Regions from separate parts of the Homo sapiens genome. Here all the other regions are linked to region 1. Evidence: promoter capture Hi-C in 16 types of primary human blood cells and fetal thymus (Javierre and others, 2016). All regions are on one chromosome and are shown on one strand. Each heading gives the region's core, a stretch centred on a gene start or on the middle of the fragment in contact. The rest is flanking DNA. Distances are from core to core; before and after follow the strand shown.

The links. Contacts are between HindIII fragments. The CHiCAGO score rates a contact against its expected background, and 5 or more counts as called.
Region 2: a contact is called between the fragment with the promoter of TAAR6 here and the fragment with the promoter of TCF21 in region 1, in 4 of 17 cell types (total CD4 T cells, total CD8 T cells, naive CD8 T cells and 1 more). The highest score is 7.0, in total CD4 T cells.
Region 3: a contact is called between the fragment with the promoter of ALDH8A1 here and the fragment with the promoter of TCF21 in region 1, in 6 of 17 cell types (naive B cells, monocytes, neutrophils and 3 more). The highest score is 11.3, in naive B cells.
Region 4: a contact is called between a fragment that was not itself captured here and the fragment with the promoter of TCF21 in region 1, in 1 of 17 cell types (monocytes). The highest score is 5.4, in monocytes.

What each region holds. Positions count from the first base shown.
Region 1 is chr6:133,887,577-133,890,704 of GRCh38, forward strand. TCF21 (transcription factor 21) reads left to right here and starts at 1,537. Exons shown (of 2, transcript NM_003206.4): 1 at 1,537-2,271. The coding sequence starts at 1,822. It overlaps TARID (TCF21 antisense RNA inducing promoter demethylation), which reads right to left and starts at 1,430. Exons shown (of 9, transcript NR_109982.1): 1 at 1,028-1,430. RefSeq lists an enhancer at 1,085-1,998. The HindIII fragment of the contact is 7,636 bases long and covers 1-3,128 here.
Region 2 is chr6:132,568,895-132,572,022 of GRCh38, forward strand. It overlaps TAAR6 (trace amine associated receptor 6), which reads left to right and starts at 1,428. Exons shown (of 1, transcript NM_175067.1): 1 at 1,428-2,465. The coding sequence starts at 1,428. The coding sequence ends at 2,465. The HindIII fragment of the contact is 3,206 bases long and covers 1-2,819 here.
Region 3 is chr6:134,948,467-134,951,594 of GRCh38, forward strand. It overlaps ALDH8A1 (aldehyde dehydrogenase 8 family member A1), which reads right to left and starts at 1,635. Exons shown (of 7, transcript NM_022568.4): 1 at 1,450-1,635. The coding sequence starts at 1,587. The HindIII fragment of the contact is 9,755 bases long and covers 1-3,128 here.
Region 4 is chr6:134,909,801-134,912,928 of GRCh38, forward strand. No RefSeq gene overlaps it. Among named protein-coding and RNA genes, the nearest start is that of ALDH8A1, 39 kb to the right of the region's middle. The HindIII fragment of the contact is 3,763 bases long and covers 1-3,128 here.

The DNA.
Region 1 (3,128 bases), core at 287-2,786:
GTCATCCCTGCTGTGGGAAGAGTCCTTTTCCTGGTTTATAACATCAATCATTCTCACAATAAATCTTAGGGTGGATGTGGTCATTTAAATCTCCACCTGCACAAACAACAGAAAATAAGAGAGCTCATAAATCTCTACACTGGTGATTAACAAATTTTGGATCCTCAGCGAAGATATTATGGAAGAGGGGTCGCTAATTCATTAATAAAGACTGATTTGCTGACAACCTGTTTAGTTTACAGCATAGGGGGAAAGCAAACAAGACCCTGCTAGCAAAACAAAACGTTAGAGGTTAGTGAATTCCCAGCTGAGCCTAGGATTAGAGATATGATATCTTAATGTAGGAGAAGCCTTCAGACCCTAAGCCAACCACTCAGAAACCACTCTTACATTTTGCTCCAGCCCCTCAACTTCAATGCCTACCTGCAAGGGAAGAAAACCTGGCAAAGAAATTGTAAGAGAGATTTATGCCTTCAGTCTCCCTGGTTTCATTGCACCAATTTCATCCAATCCCTAGGTTCTGTTTCCCTGTGCTTTTTCTACCTACTTCCCAGGAGACTTTCTTATTCTCTAGGAAAGGTGGTTCGAGCTGGGGTTAAAGATGGAAAAGAACCTTTCTCAAAAGGATAGTCTTGCTTTGTGTTGTGTAATGTCAGCTTCATGTGAGGAACACTGGCACCTAACAGGCTGGAAGAAGACAAAGACAGCAGCATTGAAAGGGACGGTGCATCACAAAAAGTGCCAGGCAAGGTGATGTCTGAGAGCAACAAAGACTCTCAAGGCAATATTAAATGCATTTCTAGAAAAGAAAAAAAAACCGAGGGGAAAGTTTCCATTTATTAGGAAAAGATGATCAACTAACATAATGTTTTCCACACACTCATACTGCCCTCTCATTCCCTACCCACTCCCACTAAGCTGTGTGTGGTTGGGTTTGAGTGTGCAAATCAAGTATGTTTGTGTACACGTAGGCAGTCCTTTGATGTCTTGAAAATGACCAGGTGTAGGTGAAATGTTTTATACTTACTTTTCCATCACCATAAAGATTCTAGGAAGCACTTGTCTTCATTTATCCCGGGGAAGGTGGAAGATCTCGGTAAAGCCTTGGAGTCTTATGAGGTGTTGGCAGGATGCGGTTGATACTCCCTGTATTTTAATTCGTGTTTTCTTGGGAGGAGAGAGGGCATGGAGTGTAGGTGGAAGGCCCAGAAAGAGCCAAACGATCTAGTCGTTTTTCTAAAGTTCTCAGTAACAACCAGTTGTGACGTCTTAAGAGAGAAAGAAGGCCTTTTACAGATGGACAGAACATGCTGCTTCTCGGCCCCGGCCACAGTTGGGAGAAGGTGGCTGGTAAGTACATGATGCAGTTGAGTTGATTTACATTACAAGTTGCAAATCAGGGTCTGTGCATTGAGTTTCCCTCCGGTTGTGAAAGGGGTCTAAGCGCTTTGCTGGGGCCTGGCAGGCCCCTCCCTGGGCTGCAAGGATCCGCCCCTCTATTCCCCAGATAAATTCCTAGTGTCCACCAAATTCCTCAGCGCTCGCTCACCCTCCTCTACGGCCACGACTCTGGGAGTGGGGAAACAGAGAGCCGGTTCCTCTGCTGCAGAAGTCCTCGGGGTTCCTTCTCACAACTCTGCGAAGGGGAAAGGGTTGTGAGACCCAACCAGACCCCAACTCCAGCTCCCAGCAGGAGGTGGCTGCGCCACACTCGGGAGGCCTCTTGGTTTCAGGGTCTCTCTGTCTCTCTCTCACCCTCTTCCTCGCTTTCTCTGTCTCTCTGTCTCTCTCTCTCTCTCTCCCTCGTCCACTCCCCCAAACATGTCCACCGGCTCCCTCAGCGATGTGGAGGACCTTCAAGAGGTGGAGATGTTGGAATGTGACGGGTTGAAAATGGATTCGAACAAGGAATTTGTGACTTCCAACGAGAGCACCGAGGAGAGCTCCAACTGCGAGAATGGGTCTCCCCAGAAGGGCCGCGGCGGCCTGGGCAAGAGGAGGAAGGCGCCCACCAAGAAGAGCCCCCTGAGCGGGGTCAGCCAGGAGGGGAAGCAGGTCCAGCGCAACGCCGCCAACGCGCGAGAGCGGGCCCGCATGCGAGTGCTGAGCAAGGCCTTCTCCAGACTCAAGACCACCCTGCCCTGGGTGCCCCCCGACACCAAGCTCTCCAAGCTGGACACGCTCAGGCTGGCGTCCAGCTACATCGCCCACTTGAGGCAGATCCTGGCTAACGACAAATACGAGAACGGGTACATTCACCCGGTCAACCTGGTGAGTGCTCCCGGGGCTGCAGCTGCAGTCCAGGCGCGCCCGCACTCCCGCCTGCGGTGGGCGCGAGTGCGCGCGGGGCTGGGAGTGGGGGTGTGGGCGCGGCGGTGACTTACACATCTCGACCACCGCGGGCCTAGAGCCTCCAGGGACCGGAGGCGGGCGGTCTAGACACGGCCCTCGCTCTCTGCCCTACCAGCCCCCGGAGCGGGAGTGATTTATGCGAGGGTTTGACGTGGCAGCCCAATTAAAAGTTTGCAAGTGTGTTGAGCTGGCACAGAGGAGGGATCCCCCGCTCCCGCTCCATCGCCATCCTCCCTGGGGTGCAGTGGCTGCTGCGGAACTGAGAACACTGACAAGACGCTGCGAGCGGACAGGCATTTTGTTAATCCTTTTTTCTTCTTTTAGCAGAGAGTGGAACTTGATTTTCCTTTCCTTGTAAATAAAAACACCCAACTCCGTTTCTTTCACAAGCATATTTAGGACCATTGGATAAGGACACATCTATGCCCCCCAAATTGTCCACGTAAGCCCTTAACCGCTTAAATATTCTGTGCTTCTCCTATAAGTGGATTAATATTTTTAAATCCCAGAAGTTCTAGTAATGATCAGCAAAATCAGTAAATCCTCACTAGTATGAGTGTAATAAATACTAAAATAGGTCACTCTCACCCAAGATTTAAGAAATGTTACCTTTTATCTTAAAAAGTAATGCCCATTGAGCCTAATTTTTTAACACAAAAAACTGATAATCATTGAGTCTACTTTTTTCTCAAATGTATTTTACTGTTTAAGAAATATATCTTAATTTTTTTCATTTGATTTTATTTTAAAACTTCTAAGATCTAAAGAAAAACAAT
Region 2 (3,128 bases), core at 178-2,677, 1.3 Mb before region 1:
CCCCGCACGGGGTTTTGTCTATATAAGAAATTGACACCATTTCACAAAATCAGACATACAGAAAATATTAAGAAGCATCTGAAAACTACTTGGTTAAGAGTGTTAATTTTATTGAGTAGGAATCAGATAGCGAGATTGATTAATAATAATACTTATCACTCTTTATAACTTGAAAAGCAAGTTCACAAATGTCTCTAAAGTCACAGCCCTGTACTGGAAAGAGAGTTGAACCCTTCTTCAGGAAGACAATAATATAATAATAACAATATTTTCTTCACTCTGCAGTGTCTTTACATTCCAGGGTTGGGAACATTACTGAGGATTCTCTTCCCATTTTCCAGTTTCCTGTTCATTATTCTTATTTTTTTGACTGCTTTTAGCATCGGGAGCACAAAGGCCAGTCACCAGGAATTGCAAACAAATGCGTAGTCAGAGAGAGAGGGCTCACTGCCCATTTGTCATGTGGATGCAGACACATTGCAGATGTGTTCCCAGTAACAATGTCTTGAGAAGAGGACTGGTCTTTCCACCAGCATCTCAGAAATGCCGGTGTGTCTAAACAGCATGTCGTTCTTTAATGCTTTCATGCAATATATTTTATCAATCTCAAGTTCCCCTCACTATGTATTATAATAATTTCTGCTTGTTGGTAACCAATGCAGATGGAAAATTGATTCTTAACAGAAGAGAAAGAGCCAAGTATTGATGCTTACTATTTACACCCTATTGTATCTTTGTAACAAAAACCCGGGTGGCTAAGTTATGATTGGGAACAAGGGAATGGTTCAAGTCTATGCACTAAGGAAAAACAAATCTTTGGCCTAAAACAATAATGATAATAGAATTTAATATAGAGTAGAGACCTGTTTTGTAGAATAACTTTCCTAGTAATCACTGTTGAAAATAATCATACTAGTTCACACCGCGCACTACAGGGATTCCATCGAGGGATTTTCCCATTGAAGGCATTTATTTAGCTAAAAGGACTTCATCTTTAAGGCGGTAATGCAGGACAGATAACAGAGATAAAGATAACAGGAGGTGATCTTTCAGCTCCATAATTACATTCCATATCAGCGACTGTTGCACAGAGAAACTCAAAAGGTAAAAATAAAATATGAAAGGATATTTAAAATCAAAAGGAATTTTATCAAATTAAGAGCATGAGACATTTATCAGTTGAAACAATCTCCAATAATCTTGTGCAATATAATTTTTGTCAAATTTTATTTTGTCATAAACATTTGGGATTTATAATAAAAATGGAAACTTGAAAAATTATATTAGAGATAATATCTGATCATTTCCTCTGGCATCCTGGTGAATATGTGTTTTTTTCCGCAGGAGCACTGAAAATCAGGAACAATCCTGTATTTTTTGTGATAATCAACAAGGACAAAACTTCTCCATATGTAAATAACAGCGTTATGAGCAGCAATTCATCCCTGCTGGTGGCTGTGCAGCTGTGCTACGCGAACGTGAATGGGTCCTGTGTGAAAATCCCCTTCTCGCCGGGATCCCGGGTGATTCTGTACATAGTGTTTGGCTTTGGGGCTGTGCTGGCTGTGTTTGGAAACCTCCTGGTGATGATTTCAATCCTCCATTTCAAGCAGCTGCACTCTCCGACCAATTTTCTCGTTGCCTCTCTGGCCTGCGCTGATTTCTTGGTGGGTGTGACTGTGATGCCCTTCAGCATGGTCAGGACGGTGGAGAGCTGCTGGTATTTTGGGAGGAGTTTTTGTACTTTCCACACCTGCTGTGATGTGGCATTTTGTTACTCTTCTCTCTTTCACTTGTGCTTCATCTCCATCGACAGGTACATTGCGGTTACTGACCCCCTGGTCTATCCTACCAAGTTCACCGTATCTGTGTCAGGAATTTGCATCAGCGTGTCCTGGATCCTGCCCCTCATGTACAGCGGTGCTGTGTTCTACACAGGTGTCTATGACGATGGGCTGGAGGAATTATCTGATGCCCTAAACTGTATAGGAGGTTGTCAGACCGTTGTAAATCAAAACTGGGTGTTGACAGATTTTCTATCCTTCTTTATACCTACCTTTATTATGATAATTCTGTATGGTAACATATTTCTTGTGGCTAGACGACAGGCGAAAAAGATAGAAAATACTGGTAGCAAGACAGAATCATCCTCAGAGAGTTACAAAGCCAGAGTGGCCAGGAGAGAGAGAAAAGCAGCTAAAACCCTGGGGGTCACAGTGGTAGCATTTATGATTTCATGGTTACCATATAGCATTGATTCATTAATTGATGCCTTTATGGGCTTTATAACCCCTGCCTGTATTTATGAGATTTGCTGTTGGTGTGCTTATTATAACTCAGCCATGAATCCTTTGATTTATGCTTTATTTTACCCATGGTTTAGGAAAGCAATAAAAGTTATTGTAACTGGTCAGGTTTTAAAGAACAGTTCAGCAACCATGAATTTGTTTTCTGAACATATATAAGCAGTTGTATAGACGAAGTTCAGGATACCTTTAAAATTACCAAGCGAAATGAGTTTTTAAAAATCAAGTAAGACTATGAATGAATAGCAAATAAATTGCTCTTCAAATGAAAAACAAATCAATGTTTTTCAGTCTTGTTAAGATGTGCACTTTCCTGTCCCTTCTGCAAAAGTATTTACTTGGCTAACAAATGTTAAATTCCTATTTGTTAACTGCTTTAGAGCTCAGCATATCCCACTCCCTGCAGACACTTTTTGTCTTTTAATCCATTGACTCTTCCCTCTGCTCTGGTATTTTTCCTAAAAATATTTGTTTTTTTTTTTTTATTTATTCCCTTTCCTCTTTTCTTTACAAAGCTTTCTACTCTTTCCCAGCCTGCCAAAAATTTCATTTGTGAATAGCCTTTATCAAATTATTGGTTTCTTTTGCTTTGGTTATTTTACCACAGGAGTCCTTTTAGGTATTAATTTAATTTATTCAATCTTGGGAGAGATCTCAGGGTGTATGGGGCAATTTGCAAATGAAGACATCATCTTGACCAGGCTGTTGTAATTGTCAAACCAGTTACTGTCATTCTTGTAATTATTTCCTCCCCCAAAGTGGGAAGCAGAAGCCACTGTACTTCCCAGAATGATGTTAGGATGATTATTTGGCTGCTGTTCT
Region 3 (3,128 bases), core at 385-2,884, 1.1 Mb after region 1:
GTATCAAAATGTCACATATGCCCATAAAGATGTACAATTATTATGTATCAATTTTTTAATTTTTTGTTAAAAAAGGGCTTAATGACTGCAAAGCACAAAGCAAAAGTTGAATAAACGGGAGCCACTGTTAGCAGCACCAGCAACATTTTCCTGAGTGATGTTTTGGAAATTGGACATGCAGTTTGTATGGTAACCATATTTTTCAAGCCGGAAAAAACTATGACTTATGGGATCAGATAGGATATTTGGAAGTTGGATTGCTGAGAAACTGAACATATCTATTACTCTACTAGCTAGCGCATCCATAGCTCATTCTATTTTCTAAAAAGTTATGAGCCATTAGCTGCAGGAAATATTTCAGCTGAATTTGGCATGTTTGTCATTTTTAACTTCACTTTGGCAAACAAGGAAGAGTGGAAAACACAAAGCTGGATTTCCCAGAGCTGTGTTAAGTCATTTGAAGCAAACAAAATTGCAGTTTATAATTTAACCAATGCATTAACCAACATTTGCAAACATTAATCCCTAAGTCTGAAGGTTTACTTTAAATGCAAGACAGATTTGAAGTATTAACAAAAAAGAAAAAAAATAGCAATGTTCTTAAAAAAAAACTTTGCATGGAATATATATTTTTATAGGAAGACTATATTTTAAATAATCTAGTTATTTGTGCCTTAAAAAGAATAAATTATAATTCATAAGGCATTAGATGACTATATATACATCAGCTACATTTACCACTTCAGATATATTTACATTCTCAGTGCAATAATTGATAGCTAATCAAATATATCTCAAATATTTTACAAAATTCTCCAAGTAAAATTAATTCTACATCACCAAAAAAATGTAATGCATATGCCATTAAACACTTTGGATAAGAAAAAAGACGCTGTTAAATCTAACTCCAAAAATATATGGGAATTTGATTTTGAGTTTCATCATTCAAATGATTGATTTTATTTTACTAGGTATTTTGAAGACATGACAAATTATGAGAAGACAATCTAAAACAAAGCCCACAGTTTTTTGCTTGTTTGTTTATTTTAGTAAAGCTATACTTTTTTTTTAATTCCATGGATATAGTGGTAAATTTAAGCAGTGCGTGGTGGAGAAAAGGGAATATTTAACAAAGTGATAGCTCTTACAAATAATACTTTGTACTAGACACTGATTAGGAAATGTTTGAGAATTGCAAAAAAAAACTGCACACAGGGCTGTGTTAGGTTGGCTAGAAAAATGACTTACTTTCTGCATATAGGAAGAGATTTGTTCTAGGTATCATACAGTCCAGTTACAAGGTACATCTTCTGAGAACTAGAATCTTCCTTCTATCATGTTTAACAATCCTACATCTTCCCCCAACTCCCTCTGCTTTTAGAAAACTGTTACCCATAATTGGCCAACATATTAAACACATTTCAGTCTTCTTTAAGTGCATATACTCACCTCGTCTTTTCCACTATTTGGCACTCTGCAATACACTTCCCCTGTTGATGGGTCGTAAGAATCTATATATGAGCTACAAGGTAAAAATTTTCCATCTATGAAGTTTTCCAGCATCAAAAGTGCGTTTGTTCCAGCCATAGCAAGGAAAAATTCTGCCTTTCCTCTTTACGACTGAGCACTCAGGTTGTCCCCACCACTGTCTGGACTCCTGAGTGAGCCTCCCCCTTCCCAGCCCCCATCTTCCCCTTTACCAATCAGTGAATGTGGGAGGGCACCTGACGCTCTCAGAGAGCATTCCAGTCTCCAAACTCAGAACTAAGAGAGTGGCTGAATGTTTCACAGACTTCTAGTACATTACCTGACATGGATAATTGTGTGTAAAAGTAACAGCTACTTACTTATGTGTTCATAGCCCTTTAAATCATCAGAAGGCATCTGTGCATGTGATTTTATTGGGTTCACACCGTAAACTGTTCATTGCTCAAACACTGATTGGATGCCAGGCCCCAAAGCAAGTCCTTTACATGAATTTACTCGTTTATTCCACACAACAATCCTATATGAAGTAACCATTACTTCCTCTCTTTTATAGAAGAAACTGAGCCTTGGAGAGGTTAGACCATTTTTCCAAGGTCACATAGTTAGCAGGGGATGAACTGTAGCCCTTTAATCTCCAAATCATATACTTTTTCCTCAATGCATCACTGCTTACCCTGCAGAGGTAACTGAAGACAGATGCCCTCTTTCCGTGGCTCATCTGTGTTTCTTTACCTTGGCTGCCCTCTCTTGGAAGAGCTGTCTCTCCATCCCAAAACCGGGGCCACAGTGGCTGCTCACATCTTCCTAGATGTGCCATGGAGATAAAGACAAGCCAAAAACATGTGTGACACATATAGCAAGGGCTTCAGATCCCTGATGTAGCTGAGAATTTCTACAAATTGGTAAGAGAAATGAGCACCCCAACAGAAAAGATAAGCAAAGATACAAAAAAGCAATCCATAGGAAAAGGAACACAATTGGCTAATGAATATATTAACAATGTTCAGCCTTGTTGTTAAGCAAGGAATGTGAAATACAGAGGTGGCCTGATTTGCCAATCATACTGGAGAGCATTTTTAAAGATTGAGAACATCTACTCTGTGAGGATGTGGAGAATCATCCCTAGTCCATAGGCGGGAGGGTTCACAGAACACTGCTTGGGGCAATTTGTCAGGGTCTGGTCAATTTCTCTTCTAGGAATCTCTCCTACAGAATTACGTGCTCATGAACAAGTACATAAGTCACAGGACATCCTTTTTTATCATAATTTAAAAATCAAAACAACCTAAAGTCCATCAATTGGAGAATATTAGAGTATAATTGTTATATTCTTAACAGGGAATACTACTTAGACATTAGAAGGATGCATTGTTAAGTGAAAAAATAAAACTAGTGAATAATATATACAGCATAGTTTCTTTGGCTATTTACATGGTTGACAGGAAGCCGTTTTAAACTGCTTGGATATTTTATGGCAAGCCTATATTACTTTTATAATTATGATTTATAGTTATAATTCAGTTGAAGGTTAGGTACCAATATTCTAAAATTCATTGATCACATGAGGGCACTTGCTGGCCGTGCACCTCCTTAGGCCCTCTCTGCTTCCATCTTTATTGGTCTCTAGATATTCTCCAAAA
Region 4 (3,128 bases), core at 358-2,857, 1.0 Mb after region 1:
GAATGGCGGGAGAGGGTGGAAACCCCTTCCCTGGGGGACTGAAGGTAGAGTGGGGCCATCTGGGGTGGTTGGGCTGCTGTGTGGGGAGCAGCCTCTGACTCTGTGCAATTTATGTGACAGCCCCAGAGCTTCGGGCTCTGTGACTACACGTGCCAATTGCCTGCAGGAGCAGGTCCCTGCACAGAGCATAAAATGCTCTCCTGAAGCATCTTTTTAAAGTGCCCACATACCAGGTCCCAAGGACTGCCGCTGGGAAGTAAGCAGCAGGCGCTCATGAATTTCTAATAGAGGAAAAATGATTTTCATGCAACATCCTTGAGAAATCAAAGCATGTGAGAATCATCAAGATAGGTAAAAATTTGAATATCAGCATATTTATCTCTTCAGGGGATTTTTGAACAATTTCTCTGATGTTTCAAGTTCAGCAAAATACATACTTCTGAGGTCCTCTTTGCATTGATTTTAGGTATCTTAGGGGAAATGTATTCTCCCACTAATAATCTACCAGAAAGCAGCTCTGAGCGTTTCTTTCTAGTAACTCCTGGGGTCCTGAGACTTGGGACTTGGACTCAGCGGTCTGCATTCAGGTCGAGTTCAGTCATTGGGATGGAAGTGATACAGTCCCCCTTGGGAGCGATACCAAAGTGCTTACCGAGCACTTGCTTCAAGCTGAGATGACTGAACTCTCCTCCCCTCTCCTGCCCCTTCCTCTGATATCCTAAATAAAGGGAGAGAGTTCACAGCTCCTGGACAGTATTCGCAGAACATGTACTGCACCCTTTCCTCAGGATGTATTTAGTGAATCCTAATCTTGAGAAAGACTGACTCCCTGAACTTTAAGGTTAGAAATAATTAGACAAGAAAATCCCTTCTCTGGATTTCTTGTAACTGTCAAAAATGATGAGTAGTGGAAAAATGGCTTCAGGTCATACTTCTCGCTCTCCCTGAACCTTTGCACTGTATTGTGTATAAAAAGAATATAATGTCCCTGTGTCATGATAGGGTGAATGTTGCTATTTCTGCCTTTTGACTGTTCATTATCATTTGCTATCATAAGCCAAGGGCCTGATAGATAGCTGCAGAAACCTAAATAAATGCAATAATTACTCAGGACTGTTCAACCCACTCATCCTCTCATTCACCTCTCCTGTACTACAGAAAATACCTCCTTTTGTCTTGGCAAACACAATTTGGAAAAATGGTTTAAGCCCTGGCAGCAATAGATAGCTAATTATATTCTATTTTGATTGCCTTAGAGGTTAGCCAGCCAGAAAGCAACATTTCATTTCCATGTTCTGAAGAATTTTAAGGCATCCCAGTTCCATTTTTTCTTTTTCTTTTCTTTATTATTTATGTAGTTCTAAATATACATAAGCATTATCTCTCTGCTTCACATGCAGTGCTCTGAAAATGCATTCCAACACTCTTCCATTCTCCATAGAGTGCAAACTCCTTGAAGGTAGAGATTATTTTTCATATTAGATGTATGCCAGGACTTATTTTATCCCTATAGATTCAAGATCAATGCCATGATCTTGCAATGACAGCATAGAGACTCCACAAAAATCTGCTGCACTGAATGTAATAAAAATCAAAATCACTACAGTAATTGTCCCATGTCTGGAGAAATGACACATTTGTTTACAATAAGGCAGAAACCAAATTATAATTATTTTAGATTTTATTGATTTCTGAGTAGCAACCACACATCCCATAAGTGAGAATATGGAAGCCATGTACCCTGGCTCATCAGACAGTGTAAAATCTGCTAATAGGTGCCTATTGCTTGGCAAGGATTGTGGCCCAACCAGTGGGGAATGGAGCCACAGCCCTCTGACCACCACCCAGACAGGTGTGGCCTGGCCCAGCCCACTGTTCAAGTGAATTGTATTTAGAGAGTTCATTACACGTAACCCCTTGAATAGCCTCTCCAGGGCTCTACTCTCCATCATGTGATTGAGAGACTGTGGTTATAACTCATAGGGTGAATCACAGCATTTCTATAATGTTCTCCAAAGTATGTGCTTGGGCTTCAAAAGAGAAAACAATACTTTGTAGTTGAAAACTTAGGAGGGAGAGTAGGTACTAATAAATCAATCTAACAAGAAAAAAGTCAACTTGGGAGTATGGAGTAATATTTTGTAGGAATTTTAAATCAGGAATTTACTGACTCAAGTGTTTTGGATTAAACTTATTAAAGCAATGAATTCTTCTCTTATAAAATGAAGCCTTCTAGTAGGATGATCAGACCATTTAATGAGGAGAGAACACCCTGGGGCCAGTACTTAATCATGTCATCCACAACCTCTAATTTTTGCTCCTAAAAACTCTGAAGCCATCTTTTTCTCCTTTTTAAAAAAAAATTATTTCTGTGCTAGTTCTAGAATCATGGCAAATGTAAAGTTTTGAATTTGATCCATGCTTGACAAACACAAAGTAGATGAACACGTTTTTTATCTTATTTATGTAGAAGAGGAAAATTTTCCTCTACCCTCTTCAGTTGGGCCTTGTGAATTAAACTGGCAAAAGTCAAATTGACAGGCGAAAAAGGCATACGAATTTTATTTTAAATTTTATGTGCATGGGAGCTCCATAGAAAAGAAGTAAAAACCCAAATAAGTGGCTAGTCTTGGGGCCATAAGTGCCATTTTAACCAAAGGTGAAAGATTGTTGAGAAATGACTAACAAAGAAGAGGGAGTTTGGGTTTTTAGGGCCAGTAAATTGTAGAAAGGTAAAAATCTGGGGGAAAATCCAATGAAGGTAAAAGTTATTTAGTGAGATTTGTTTATGCAGACATCTCGGCACCATCTCCATCTCCAGAAATAAAGGTTACTCTTTCTCTCCTGGTACAAGAGAGAAAACTATCATAAGGGAATGTTATGCCCTCCTTTTAGGCAAACAGGGGGAAAATAGCTTTTCCTGTGTCTGCTTTTTCTCAATTACCCTCAGCTCAAAACAATCAATGTATCAAAGTAGCATATATTGGGATGGGATATTCTGTTCCCCTTTAGCTTTTTTACATATCTAAGATCTTCCAGATTATTAAACCTTATTTTTAAATCCATGTTCTTTTTAAAGATGTTCTTCAATCACCACGTCCTGTCTTCCCTGTCCTAACTTGAGCCAA